Regions from separate parts of the Homo sapiens genome. Here all the other regions are linked to region 2. Evidence: promoter capture Hi-C in human tissues and cell types (Jung and others, 2019). All regions are on one chromosome and are shown on one strand. Each heading gives the region's core, a stretch centred on a gene start or on the middle of the fragment in contact. The rest is flanking DNA. Distances are from core to core; before and after follow the strand shown. Region 1 holds the start of GNA11 (G protein subunit alpha 11). Region 2 holds the start of LMNB2 (lamin B2). Region 3 has its middle 4.8 kb from the start of S1PR4.

The links. The method cuts DNA at HindIII sites, captures the fragments that hold promoters and counts their contacts. A contact is called where the count stands out against the background at its distance.
Region 1: the fragment with the promoter of GNA11 here is called in contact with the fragment with the promoter of LMNB2 in region 2 in 1 of the 25 tissues and cell types used here (spleen).
Region 3: a fragment that was not itself captured here is called in contact with the fragment with the promoter of LMNB2 in region 2 in 1 of the 25 tissues and cell types used here (dorsolateral prefrontal cortex).

What each region holds. Positions count from the first base shown.
Region 1 is chr19:3,091,646-3,095,824 of GRCh38, forward strand. GNA11 (G protein subunit alpha 11) reads left to right here and starts at 2,717. Exons shown (of 7, transcript NM_002067.5): 1 at 2,717-3,142. The coding sequence starts at 3,007. RefSeq lists silencers at 2,386-2,635, 2,656-2,775, 3,096-3,225 and enhancers at 2,522-3,509, 3,510-4,179. The HindIII fragment of the contact is 21,058 bases long and covers 1-4,179 here.
Region 2 is chr19:2,453,778-2,458,656 of GRCh38, forward strand. LMNB2 (lamin B2) reads right to left here and starts at 3,182. Exons shown (of 12, transcript NM_032737.4): 1 at 2,893-3,182. The coding sequence starts at 3,156. RefSeq lists enhancers at 1-434, 491-1,201, 1,202-1,910 and silencers at 2,171-2,350, 2,581-2,670, 2,731-2,980, 3,101-3,280. The HindIII fragment of the contact is 70,551 bases long and covers 1-4,879 here.
Region 3 is chr19:3,171,710-3,176,174 of GRCh38, forward strand. No RefSeq gene overlaps it. Among named protein-coding and RNA genes, the nearest start is that of S1PR4, 4.8 kb to the right of the region's middle. The HindIII fragment of the contact is 3,498 bases long and covers 1,467-4,465 here.

The sequences.
Region 1 (4,179 bases), core at 1,467-3,966, 640 kb after region 2:
GCTGGTCTCAAACTGCTGACCTCAAGTGATCTGCCTGCCTTGGCCTTCCAAAGTGCTGGGATTACAGGCATGAGCCACCACACCCTGCTTTTTTGTTTTTTTTTTTTTTTGGACGGAGTTTCTCTCTTGTTGCCCAGGCTGGAGTGCAATGGTGCGATCTCAGCTCACTGCAACCTCCGCCTCCCGGGTTCAAGAGGTTCTCCTGCCTCAGTCTCCCAAGTAGCTGGGATTACAGGCATGAGCCACCGTGCCTGGCTAATTCTGTATTTTCAGTAGAGACGGGGTTTCTCCATGGTGGTCAGGCTGGTCTTGAACTCCCGATCTCAGGTGATCTGCCCACCTCGGCCTCCCAAAGTGCTGGGATTACAGGCATAAACCACCACACCCGGCCTTTTTTTTTTTTTTTTTTTGAGACGGAGTCTCGTTCTGTTGCCCTGGCTGGAATGCAGTGGTATGATCCCAGCTCCCTGCAACCTCTGCCTCCCGGGTTCAAGCGATTCTCCTGCCTCAGCAAAAGTAGCTGAGACCACAGGTGCCCGCCACCACGCCCGGGTCATTTTTGTATTTTTAGTAGAGAGGGGGTTTCACCATGTTGGCCACTCTGGTGTTTTGTTTTGTTTTGTTTTGATACAGGGTCTCACTCTTGTGTCCCAGGCTGGAGTGCAGTAGCCCCATCTCCGCTCACTGCAACATCTGCCTCCTGGGCTCAAGTGATCCTCTCAGCCTCCCGAGTAGCTGGGATTACAGGCATGTGCCACCACACCCATCTAATTTTTTGTATTTTTAGTAGAGATGGGGTTTCGCCATGTTATCTAGGCTGGTCTCGAACTCCTGAGCTCAAGCGGTCCACCTGCCTTGGCCTCCCAAGTACTGGGATTACCGGCAGGAGCTGCCGCACCTGGCCAGAACATACAATTTCAAGTTGTGGCTCAAGAGAAGGTACCTGGCTTGGTCTGAGGAGTCAGGAGAAGTCTCCCTGAGGAGCTGACGTCTGAATTGAAACGGAGAGGATGCTCAGGGGTTGGCCAAGGAGGCCAGAGAGGGAAAAGGGTTTTCAGTAGTCAGCAAGGTGGTGGGAACACACGTTTTTATAAATTCTGGTGGCCACTTCCATTTCATCTGCAAAGTAAGGATAAAGATATGGCTGGGTGAGGTGGCTCACATCTATAATCCCAGCGCTTTGGGAGGCCGAGGAGGGCAGATCACTAGAGGCCAGGAGTTTGAGACCAGCCTGGCCAACGTGGCGAAACCCGCTCTCTACTAAAAATACAAAATTAGCCAGGCATGGTGGCGCGCCTGTAATCCCAGCTACTTGGGAGGGTGAGGCAGGAGAATCACTAGAGCCTGTGAGGCAGAGGGTGCAATGAACCTAGATCACGCCCCTGCACTCCAGCCTGGGCGACAGAGCAAGACTCCATCTCAAAAAAAGAAGAAGAAAAAAAAGATATCCCTTGGGTAGGGTTAGCTTAACGGGCTTACAGCAGTGCCTGGTATCCTGTAGGCATTTCATGAATGCGTATACCTGGCCTGGAATGGTGCAGGCACTGCAGTAAGGCCTGATTGACACCTGATGGACAGCAGGCACTCCATTAATCTCTGGTCCGTGCCTGGCATATAGAATGTGTCCCATTAATGCCTGATACACAGTAGGTGTCCCATTAACGCTTTTTAATTTTTTTTTTTGAGACAGAGTCTCGCTCTGTCGCCCAGGCTGGAGTGCAGTGGCATGATCTCAGCTCACTGCAAGTTCCGTCTCCCGGGTTCACGCCATTCTCCTGCCTCAGCCTCCCGAGTAGCTGGGACTACAGGCGCCCGCCACCACGCCCGGCTAATTTTTTGTATTTTTAGTAGAGACGGGGTTTCACCGTGTCAGCCAGGATAGTCTCGATCTCCTGACCTCGTGATCCACCCGCCTCGGCCTCCCAAAGTGCTGGGATTACAGGCGTGAGCCACCGCGCCCGGCCCTCTTTTTTTTTTTTTTTCTTTGGAGACGGAGTTTCGTTCTTGTTGCCCAGGCTGGAGTGCAATGGCGTGATCTCGGCTCACTGCAACCTCCGCCTCCTGGGTTCAAGTGATTCTCCTGCCTCAGCCTCCCGAGTAGCTGGGATTACGGGCGTGCACCACCACGCCGGGCTAATTTTGTAGTTTTAGTAGAGACGGCGTTTCTCCCTGTTGGTCAGGCTGGTCTCGAACTCCAGACCTCAGGTGATCCGCCCGCCTCGGCCTTCCAAAGTGCTGGGATTACAGGCGTGAGCCACCGCGCCCGACCTCCATTAACGCTTTTTAATGGATGAGTGAAGGTTCCTGTCAGGCAATGTCAGGGCGCTTCCCGGGGGCAGCGACTGCTGCCCAGGCACCTGGAGACCCAGAGAGCGCAGCGGCCGCGTGCGCGCCTCCGCCACCGCGCCTGGGCCGAGCCGAGCGGGACCGAGCGGGGCCGAACGGAGCCGAGCGGAGCCGAGCCTGGCCGGGCCGAGTCCGCCACATTCCCACAATCCCGGGCGGCCCCGCCCCGGCTCCCGGCTGCGCGTCCCCCTTCCCACGTCGGCGCAACCAAACCCGCGGGCCCCCCGCCCTCGCCCCGCCCCGCCCCTTTCGCGCCCGCCGACGCCCCGCCCAGGCCGCTAGTCCCGCCCCCATGGTGGGCGCGCTTGGCCGCCGGCCCCTCCCATTGGCCGCACCGTCTGCCCGTCGCGGGCTGCGCTCCCAGCCTGCTAGGTTGTCCGGCGCTGTCGCTCGGTTGCGGCGGCTGCGGTTGGCGGTGGCTGCGGCGGCGGCGCGGGCTGAGTGCGGCCGCGCGGGAGTCCGCGGCTGGCGCGGCCCGAGCGGGGACCCGGCGGCTCGCCAGGCGGCGGCCGAGGCGGGGCGGGCCGGCCCGGGGCCGAGGGCCGGTGGCCGAGGCCGGAGGGCCGCGGCGGGCGGCGGCCGAGGCGGCTCCGGCCAGGGCCGGGCCGGGGGCCGGGGGGCGGCGGCGGGCAGGCGGCCGCGTCGGCCGGGGCCGGGACGATGACTCTGGAGTCCATGATGGCGTGTTGCCTGAGCGATGAGGTGAAGGAGTCCAAGCGGATCAACGCCGAGATCGAGAAGCAGCTGCGGCGGGACAAGCGCGACGCCCGGCGCGAGCTCAAGCTGCTGCTGCTCGGTGAGTGCGGCCCCCGGGCCTGCCGGCTGCGGGCCCTGCCCTGCCTGTGCCTGCCCTGCCTGTCCGGGTCGGGCCGGGACCCTCCGGGGTCAGCCCTGCCTGTGCCGTCCGGGTCGCGAGACCCTCCGGGGTCAGCCCTGCCTGTGCCTTCCCTGCCTGTCCGGGTCGCGGGACCCTCGAGTGTCAGCCCTGCCTGTGCCTTCACTGCCTGTCCGGGTCGGGGCGGGGCCCTCCGGGATCAGCCCTGCCTGTGTCGTCTGGGTCGGCTCGGGACCCTCTGGGGTCAGCCCTGCCTTTGCTGTCTAGGTCGGCACCTGGGACCCTCCGGGGTCAGCTGCGGGCCCCTGATTTCTTTGGGGTCAGCCCCTGCCTTAACTGTTCATGTTGGCACCTGGGACTCTCCGGTGTCAGCCTGTGTCTGTCCTGTCTGGATCAGGCCCCCGATCACTCCTAGGTCAGCTCCCAGCTTCTGCTGTCTACATTGGGCCTCCAGGACTCTTCAGGATTTGCCCTCTGTTCCTTCTCAAGGGACCAGTCCCTCCCTGCACAGGGACCTTCTGACCTTACCCCACCGGAGTACCCACCCCTCGCTACCCCTTCAGGGCCAGACCTTTGGGCTGTAACCCACAGGGCACACTCACCCCTCACTGCTCAGGGCCCCGCGTTGACCCTTCCCTCCAGGCAGAGCCCTGTACACTCCATGCAGGCCCTGTACCCTCCATGCAGGCCCTGTACACCCCCCCATCCCCCCGAAGACTCCTCCGTGTCCCCTATCCCCACATTCCCTTCAGGGCCATTCTCCTGCCTTCCTGTTCCGGGAAACCCCGTACTCCTCTTGGCTGGAATGCACCCTGTGGGAAAAAGACAGTCTTTCCTCTCCTCAGGGTTCCGCTCAGCTGAGGGTGGGGCGGTTGACACCTGAGGGAGCCTTTGCTTGTTGTCCCAAGCAGCTATCTCGGCAGCCTCCCCCGCCCCCTTCCTTAGAGTCCTGGTGGGAGCCACGCTGAGTCCTCGTTGAGAGCAGCCCCCCACCTGCC
Region 2 (4,879 bases), core at 1,932-4,431:
TCCCCAGCACTCACCAGGCCCTGCACCCTCAAAGCTCCCTGCAGCTGTTCGTCCCATTGGCAGGTGGGATAACAGAGGCCCAAAGACAAGAAACCAGCTCTAACCCTGCACGCCACGGGTCCAGCAGGCGGCCTCTAAGTTGGGACAACTCCGCACTGGACAGATGGCAAGATGGAGGCTCCAAGAGACACAGGGGCCTGCCCAAAGCCACACTAATTGAAAAGCAGGGGACTGGCCAGGCACGGCGGCTCACACCTGTAATCCCAGTACTTTGGGAGGCCGAGGCAGGCAGATCACCTGAGGCCAGGAGTTTGAGACCAGCCTGACCAACAAGGCCAAACTCTGTCTCTACTAAAAATACAAAAATGAGCCGGGCATGGTGGTGAACACCTGTAATCCCAGCTACTCGGGAGACGGGGGCAGGAGAATCACTTGAACCCGGGAGGCAGAGGGTGCGGGGAGCTAAGATCGCGCCACTGCACTCCAGCCTGGACGACGGAGCGAGACTCTATCTCAAAAAAAAAAAAAAAAAAAAAGAAAGAAAAGCAGGGGATCCCACCAAGCACTGATCTTCCTTCTACCTCCCTGAAGGCACCAGCTACATTCTTTCAGGTTCCCTGTCCCCAGGGCACTGTGAAAACAACCCACAGGGAGCTACTGAACAAAAGTTAACCTGCTGTGGCCCCACACACAAGTAAGAGGTGGGTATTATAATTACACCCATTCCAAAGGCGAGGGCACTGAGACCCAGAGAGGGTAAGCGACTAGCCCAAGGTCACACAGAGGGTAAGTGGCTCCCAGAAATGACCCGACCCCCTCAACAAGCAGCTCTTCTCCCAGAAGCCCACCACGTCCTCTGATCTCCAGATGGGCGAGTGGGGACTGGGCGCTGCAAATCCCGACTTCGGCACCCAGCTCTCCCAACAGGACACTGGGGCCTAGGGACCCCAGGACCCCAACCCATGGCAGGAATCAAGTGGGTGCTCCTGCCTGCCCCCCGTTCTGGAGTCCTGTCCTTGGATTGGGCATGGCCAGTGGGAGGGACAAAGAGCCTCCCCAGGGTTAGGTTGGGGGGCAGGACAGATTGCACCCAGACCCCAAGACACCCCGACCTCATGTCCCCTTGGTGGGCAGACTTTCCCGCCTCTTCTCCTTCAGTCTGCACTGAAGCCTCGGGGCCCATTCAGAACCTCAACACTTTCCACCGGACCCAAGATCCCAACTCTCACCCTTCCTTCATATTCTCTTGGGGGCAGAACCTGCCAGACCACCGCTGACACCAGGGCACAAATAAGGGACTCCCAAATTTCCCGTGGGACCCCAAGGTATCAGAACCTCTCCCTCGGCCCCCTACCCACCCTGGGCCTGGTGAGAGATGAGGGGCCTAATTCCCACCCCAGTCACCAATCTCTTCTGGATTCATCAGGGAACTCGCTAAAGCTCCAGGGAGAACTGAGACCACGTGACTCACCCCAGAGACTCCAGGGAGACCCCCCACACACCCCATCTTGGGCCTCCTCAGAGGGCCTGGGCCCCCCAGTCTCCTTGGAGCCCAGAGACCACCCCCATTCCACCCCAGATACCCCAATACCCAGCTTCATCCCCAGAGACTCCCACTCACACCCCCTCAGTTGGGGGGGGTCCGCCAAGTCTCCTTGGAATCCTCTGAGGGACGAGGCATATGGGGGGCTGCAGCCCAATACTCAGGGAGCCCCCAAATCCCCAGGACCTCTCTTTGGTGGGGAGCCCTAGTCTGTAACCCCCATGGCCCCAAAATGCACCTCTCACGGAAGGGTCCCCAGAGCTAGCTGGAGGCCCCTCTGCAGCCCTCACTCAGGACACGGAAGATCTCCTGGGACCCCCTCCATAGGTGGGGCATTCCTGGTCTGCACTTTTCACTCAGTGCCCTAGAAACCCCCTGGAGGTCCCCAAGAGAATGGGCCACTCCGGTCTGCACCCCTCCCAAGGGGTCCCCCAAGATCTCGGAAACTGCGGTGGGCAGGGCCTGCCCAGGTGGCACCCCTCACTCAGGGTCTCCCCCTGGAGATCCCCGAGGCCAGGCTGACCCCACCCCTGCTCAGGGTCCCCCGTGATCGCGTACTCCGCGGTGGGCTGGGCCTGGCCGAGCTGCACCCCTCACTCAGGGACCCCTTGAAACCCCCTGGAGACCCCCAAGCCGGGACCCTTCCCGGTCTGCACCCCTGCCCAGGGTCCCCGCGATCGCGCACCCCGCGGTGGCCAGGACCTGCACCCTTCATCCAGGAGCCCCCCGCAAACCCCCTGGAGACCCCAAGCCGGGAGTCGTTCAGAGTCCCCCGCGATCGCGCGCCCCGTGGTGGGCGGGGCCTGGCCGAGTAGCACCTTTCACTCAGGGACTCTCCGAAACGCGGCGGAGATCCCCGAGGCCGGACTGTCCCCGTCTGCATCCCAGCTCAGGGTTCCCCGCGACTGGGAGCCCCGCAGTGGGCTGGGCCTAGCCGAGCAGCACCCCTCACTCAGAAGCCCCCAAACCTCCTGGAGACCCCCGAGCCGGAGCCTGTCCCCGTCTGCACCCCCGCCCAGGGTCCCCGCGATCACGCACCCCGCGGTGGGCGGGGCCTGGCCGAACTGCACCGCTCACTCAGGGGCCCCTCGAAACCCCCTGGAGACCCTCGAGACCCGGGCCCGTCCCTGTCTGCACCCAGGGTCCCAGCGATTGCCCACCCCGCGGTGGGAGGGACCTGGCCGAGCTGCACCCCTCACTCAGGGGCCCCCCGAAACCCCGCGGAAACCCCCGAAGCCGGGGCCCGTCCCCGTCTGCACCCCCGCCCAGGGTCCCCGCGATCGCGCGCCCCGCGGTGGGCGGGGCCTGCCGGCTGCACCCCCGCCCGGCCCCTAAGCCCCGGCGCCCACCTCGCGCGTGGTCACCTCCTCCTTCTCTGAGATCTTGAGCAGGAGCCGGTCGTTCTCCAGCTCCAGCGCGCGGACGCGGTCGATGTAGTGCGCCAGGCGGTCGTTGAGCTCGCGCAGCTCCTCCTTCTCCTGCAGCCGCGACAGGCGCGTGGGCGACAGCGGCGTGGCGGGCCCGCCCGCGCGGCCGGGCAGCGGCGTGGCCATGGTGGCGGCGGCTCGCGGCCTGCGCTGCTCCCGACGGCGGCCCGGGCTCGGCGGGCTCATTCAATCCGCGCCGCCGGCTGCAAGATGGCGCCGCGCCGCGCCGCGCCCGCCGCCCGCCGCGGCGGGGCAGCCTGGGACTGGTAGTCCGACCGCCGGGCGCGCGCGGGGCACGCCGGAAGTTGAAGTCTCCGTCCAGCTCTCGCTTCGCAGAGGCGCTGACTCCAGAGACAGACTTCCTGGCTGCAAACTCCCAGCTCCGCCACGAGGAAACAGCGTTGGGTTGCTTTCTAGTACCTGTTTCCCCACTTAGAGAACCTCAAAACGTGTTCAAAGAACCAGACACAAAAGGCCATATAGGGCCGGGCGTGGTGGCTCACGCCTGTAATCCCAGCACTTTGGGAGGCCAAGGCCGGTGGATCACTTGAGAAAAGAATTTCGAGATCAGCCTGGACCACATAGGGAGACCCCCCCACACCATCTCTACTACGGAGGCGCGCGCCGGTAATCCCAGCTACTTGGGAGGCTGAGGCAGGAGAATCTCTTGAACTTGGGACGTGGAGGTTGCAGTAAGCCAAGATCGCGGCACTGCACTCCAGCCTGGGCAACAATGAGAAACTTTGTCTCAAAAAAAAAAAAAAAAAAAAAAAAAAGCCATATAGTGTACAATGCCACTGATATAAAATGTCCAGAAGAGGCTGTCAAGGAGTATGAATTTCAACAAATTGAGTTTAATGATCTCATTGGCTCTTATTAGCAATTCATGAATTGGATAGCATTCAATCTATTAAATAGGCACTCCAATGAGCTGAGCAGAGAGGATGGGCATTCTGCATTACAGGCAGAAAAGGCTGAAGAAAGGAGAAATAAGAATTAAAATAAAAGCCAGGCCAGGTACAGTGGTTTGCTCACGCCTGTAATGCCAGCACTTTGGGAGGCGGAGGTGGGAGGATAGCCTGAGCCCAGGAGTTTGAGACTGGCCTGGGCAACATAGCAAGACCCCATTTCTAAAAATAAAAATAAAAAAATTAGCCAGGTGCAGTGGCTCACACCTGTATTCCCAGCACTTTAGGAGGCCAAGCCGGGCAGATCATGAGGTCAGGAGTTCGAGACCAGCCTGACCAATATGGTGAAATCCCGTCTCTACTAAAAATACAAAAATTAGCCAGGCATGGTGGCACATGCCTGTAGTCTCAGCTACTCGGGAAGCTGAGGCAGGAGAATTGCTTTAACCCGGGAGGCGGAGGTTGCAGGGAGCCAAGATTGAACCACTGCACTCCAGCCTAGGCAACAGAGTAAGACTCCACCTCAAAAAAAAAAAAAAAAAAAAATTAGCTGGGCGCCTATAGTCCTAGGTATTTGGGAGGCTAAGGTGGCAGGATTGTTTGAGCAAGAGAGGTCAAGGTTGCAGTGAGCCCTGATCACATCACTGCATTCCAGCCTGGGTGACAGAGTGAGAGTTTGTCTCAAAAAAAGTAAAAATAAAAATACGAAATAAAAACCAATTGGTTGTTTCAAAGTTACTTTTTTCATAGGGTCTGTTTTAACCCCCTCTATTTTGAGGGTACTTCCCTATCAGGTTAACCGGTCCCCTTTGGCTTGGTGGCTGTGAATGTTTTTTTTTGAAAACCTGCACCCTTTAAAGTTCAGTTTGAGGCCAGGTACGGGTGGCTCTCACCTGTAATCTCAGCACTTTGGGAGGCTGAGATGGGGAGATCGCTTAAGCCTAGGAGTTTGAGAACATCCTGGGCAACATAGTGAGACTCTGTCTCCAAAAAAAAAAATT
Region 3 (4,465 bases), core at 1,966-4,465, 720 kb after region 2:
AGTCTAGGTTGGAGGTTGGGATTGGGACCTGGGGGTCTTGGTCCAGGATTGGAGGCTGTGTCTGGGATTAGGGTTCAGTCTAGGATGTGGACCAAGCCTGGGATCAGCATTCAGTCCAGGGTAGGGGGCTGAGCCTGGGATTAGGGCTTAGTCTTGGATGTGGACTGAGCCTGGGATGAGAGCTCAGTCCAGGGATTAGGGCTCAGTCTAGGATGGGGACTGGGCTTGGGATGCAGGCTCAGTACAGAGTGGGGGGCTGGTCCTGGGATCAAGGCTCAGTCTAGGACGGGGGCTGGGCCTGGGACTCAGCAATCAGGACTCAGTCTAGGATGAGGGACTAAGCCTTGGATCAGTGTTCAGTGCAGAGTGGGGGGCTGGGCCTAGGAGCAGGGCTCAGTCAAGCATAGGGGGCTTAGCCTGGGATCAGGGCTTAGTCCATCATGAGGCACTCAACCTCAGAACACACAATGTCTCTCTGTGTAGGTGCCTGAGTCATGTGAGGCTGGACTGAGGCTCACTTGTCTACTCACTGGGCAGGGCAGTGCCTGGGCAAGACCTGGCTGTTTGTTTCCCTCCTGGCCTCACCTCCCAGCTGCCGGCCCCTCCTCCCCGAGCCCCACATCCCTCTCCAGATCCCCTTTCTGCTTGGTGACCTCCAGTGACAAAAGGCAGCTGCCTCCCCAGTCAGTTCCTCGCATGGAGCCTCCCGACACTGTCCTGCTTCAGAACTGAACCGTAAGCAAAGGGAGGGGCCATGGGGCCCCAGCATGTGCTGCGATCAGCCCCCGTCTCCTGCCAGCCCTGCCCTCCCTGGGGTGCCCCCGCTTCTCAGGGCCGATACTGTGCCGCTCATGGGACGCCTGTGTTCTCATGGGACGTCTGTGCCCTCATGGGACACCTGTGCCCCTCATGGGAGGCCTGTGTTCTCATGGGACGCCTGTACCCCTCATGGGACGCCTGTACCCCTCATGGGACGTCTGTGTTCTCATGGGATGCCTGTGCCCTCATGGGATGGCTGTGTTCTCATGGGACGCCTGTACCCTCATGGGACGCCTGTGCCCCTCATGGGACGCCTGTGTTCTCATGGGATGCCTGTACCCTCATGGGACGCCTGTGCCCCTCATGGGACACCTGTGTTCTCATGGGACACCTGTGCCCCTCATGGGATGCCTGTACCCTCATGGGATGCCTGTGCCCCGCATGGGATGCCTGCATTCTCATGGGACACCTGTGCCCTCATGGGACACCTGTGTTCTCATGGGACACCTGTGTTCTCATGGGACACCTGTGCCCTCATGGGACGCCTGTGCCCTCATGGGACAACTGTGTTCTCATGGGACGCCTGTGTTCTCATGGGACGCCTGTGCCCTCATGGGATGCCTGTGTTCTCATGGGACGCCTGTGCCCCTCATGGGATGCCTGTGCCCTCATGGGACGCCTGTGTTCTCATGGGATGCCTGTGCCCCTCATGGGATGCCTGTGTTCTCATGGGACGCCTGTGCCCCTCATGGGATGCCTGTGTTCTCATGGGATGCCTGTGCCCCTCATGGGATGCCTGTGCCCTCATGGGACACCTGTGTTCTCATGGGACACCTGTGCCCTCATGGGACGCCTGTGTTCTCATGGGACGCCTGTGCCCTCATGGGATGCCTGTGCCCTCATGGGACGCCTGTGACCTCATGGGATGCCTGTGTTCTCATGGGACGCCTGTGTTCTCATGGGACGCCTGTGCCCTCATGGGACGCCTGTGTTCTCATGGGACGCCTGTGCCCTCATGGGATGCCTGTGCCCTCATGGGATGCCTGTGCCCTCATGGGACGCCTGTGTTCTCATGGGACGCCTGTGCCCCTCATGGGACGCCTGTGCCCTCATGGGACGCCTGTGCCCTCATGGGACGCCTGTGTTCTCATGGGACGCCTGTGCCCCTCATGGGACGCCTGTGCCCTCATGGGACGCCTGTGCCCTCATGGGACGCCTGTGTTCTCATGGGACGCCTGTGCCCCTCATGGGACGCCTGTGTTCTCATGGGACTCCTGTGCCCTCATGGGACGCCTGTGTTCTCATGGGACGCCTGTGCCCCTCATGGGACGCCTGTGTTCTCATGGGACGCCTGTGCCCTCATGGGACGCCTGTGTTCTCATGGGACGCCTGTGCCCCTCATGGGACACCTGTGTTCTCATGGGACGCCTGTGCCCTCATGGGACGCCTGTGTTCTCATGGGACGCCTGTGCCTCTCATGGGACACCTGTGTTCTCATGGGACGCCTGTGCCCTCATGGGACGCCTGTGCCCTCATGGGACACCTGTGTTCTCATGGGACGCCTGCATTCTCATGGGACGCCTGTGCCCTCATGGGACACCTGTGTTCTCATGGGACACCTGTGTTCTCATGGGATGCCTGTGCCCTCATGGGATGCCTGTACCCCTCATGGGACGCCTGTGTTCTCATGGGATGCCTGTACCCTCATGGGACGCCTGTACCCCTCATGGGACATCTGTGCCCTCATGGGATGCCTGTGCCCCTCATGGGATGCCTGTGCCCTCATGGGACGCCTGTGTTCTCATGGGATGCCTGTACCCTCATGGGACGCCTGTGCCCCTCATGGGATGCCTGTGTTCTCATGGGATGCCCGTGCCCCGCATGGGACGCCTGAATTCTCATGGGACACCTGTGCCCTCATGGGACACCTGTGTTCTCATGGGACGCCTGTGTTCTCATGGGACACCTGTGCCCTCATGGGACGCCTGTGTTCTCATGGGACGCCTGTGCCCTCATGGGACGCCTGTGTTCTCATGGGACGCCTGTGCCCTCATGGGACGCCTGTGCCCTCATGGGACGCCTGTGTTCTCATGGGACGCCTGTGCCCCTCATGGGACGCCTGTGCCCTCATGGGACGCCTGTGTTCTCATGGGACGCCTGTGCCCCTCATGGGACGCCTGTGTTCTCATGGGACGCCTGTGCCCTCATGGGACGCCTGTGCCCTCATGGGACGCCTGTGCCCTCATGGGACGCCTGTGTTCTCATGGGACGCCTGTGCCCTCATGGGACGCCTGTGCCCTCATGGGACGCCTGTGTTCTCATGGGACGCCTGTGCCCTCATGGGACGCCTGTGCCCTCATGGGACGCCTGTGTTCTCATGGGACGCCTGTGTTCTCATGGGACGCCTGTGCCCCTCATGGGACGCCTGTGTTCTCATGGGACGCCTGTGCCCTCATGGGACGCCTGTGTTCTCATGGGACGCCTGTGCCCCTCATGGGACGCCTGTGTTCTCATGGGACGCCTGTGCCCCTCATGGGACACCTGTGCCCTCATGGGACGCCTGTGCCCTCATGGGACGCCTGTGTTCTCATGGGACGCCTGTGCCCCTCATGGGACGCCTGTGCCCTCATGGGACGCCTGTGTTCTCATGGGACGCCTGTGCCCCTCATGGGACACCTGTGTTCTCATGGGACGCCTGTGCCCTCATGGGACGCCTGTGTTCTCATGGGACGCCTGTGCCCCTCATGGGACACCTGTGTTCTCATGGGACGCCTGTGCCCTCATGGGACGCCTGTGTTCTCATGGGACGCCTGTGCCCCTCATGGGACACCTGTGTTCTCACGGGACGCCTGTGCCCTCATGGGACGCCTGTGTTCTCATGGGACGCCTGTGCCCCTCATGGGACGCCTGTGTTCTCATGGGACGCCTGTGCCCCTCATGGGACACCTGTGCCCTCATGGGACGCCTGTGCCCTCATGGGACGCCTGCGTTCTCATGGGACGCCTGCATTCTCATGGGACGCCTGTGCCCTCATGGGACACCTGTGTTCTCATGGGACACCTGTGTTCTCATGGGATGCCTGTGCCCTCATGGGATGCCTGTACCCCTCATGGGACGCCTGTGTTCTCATGGGATGCCTGTACCCTCATGGGACGCCTGTACCCCTCATGGGACATCTGTGCTCTCATGGGATGCCTGTGCCCCTCATGGGATGCCTGTGCCCTCATGGGACGCCTGCATTCTCATGGGACACCTGTGCCCTCATGGGATGCCTGTACCCTCATGGGACGCCTGTGCCCCTCATGGGATGCCTGTGTTCTCATGGGATGCCTGTGCCCCTCATGGGACGCCTGCATTCTCATGGGACACCTGTGCCCTCATGGGATGCCTGTACCCTTCATGGGACGCCTGTGTGTGGTTGCCATGATTACTACCTGAGACTGTCACTACGACAGTTACTATTGTTACTACTTGAGACCATCATTACAAGACTGAACGAAGGGACGAATGTAGAAATGAAAACTTAAGACAGAAGAAACTGTTTTAAAGGAAGGGACCAGGGGAAGAAAAAGAGAGCTCCCTGCTTCTAGTGAGCAAAGGCAGCCCCCCAAGCTTCTACAGCCCTTCGTACTTATTGGGTAGAAAGCAGGGGGAGGAAACGATTGGCCAGCTGCTTGATTGTTCACACGTTCACGTTATTGCTAAC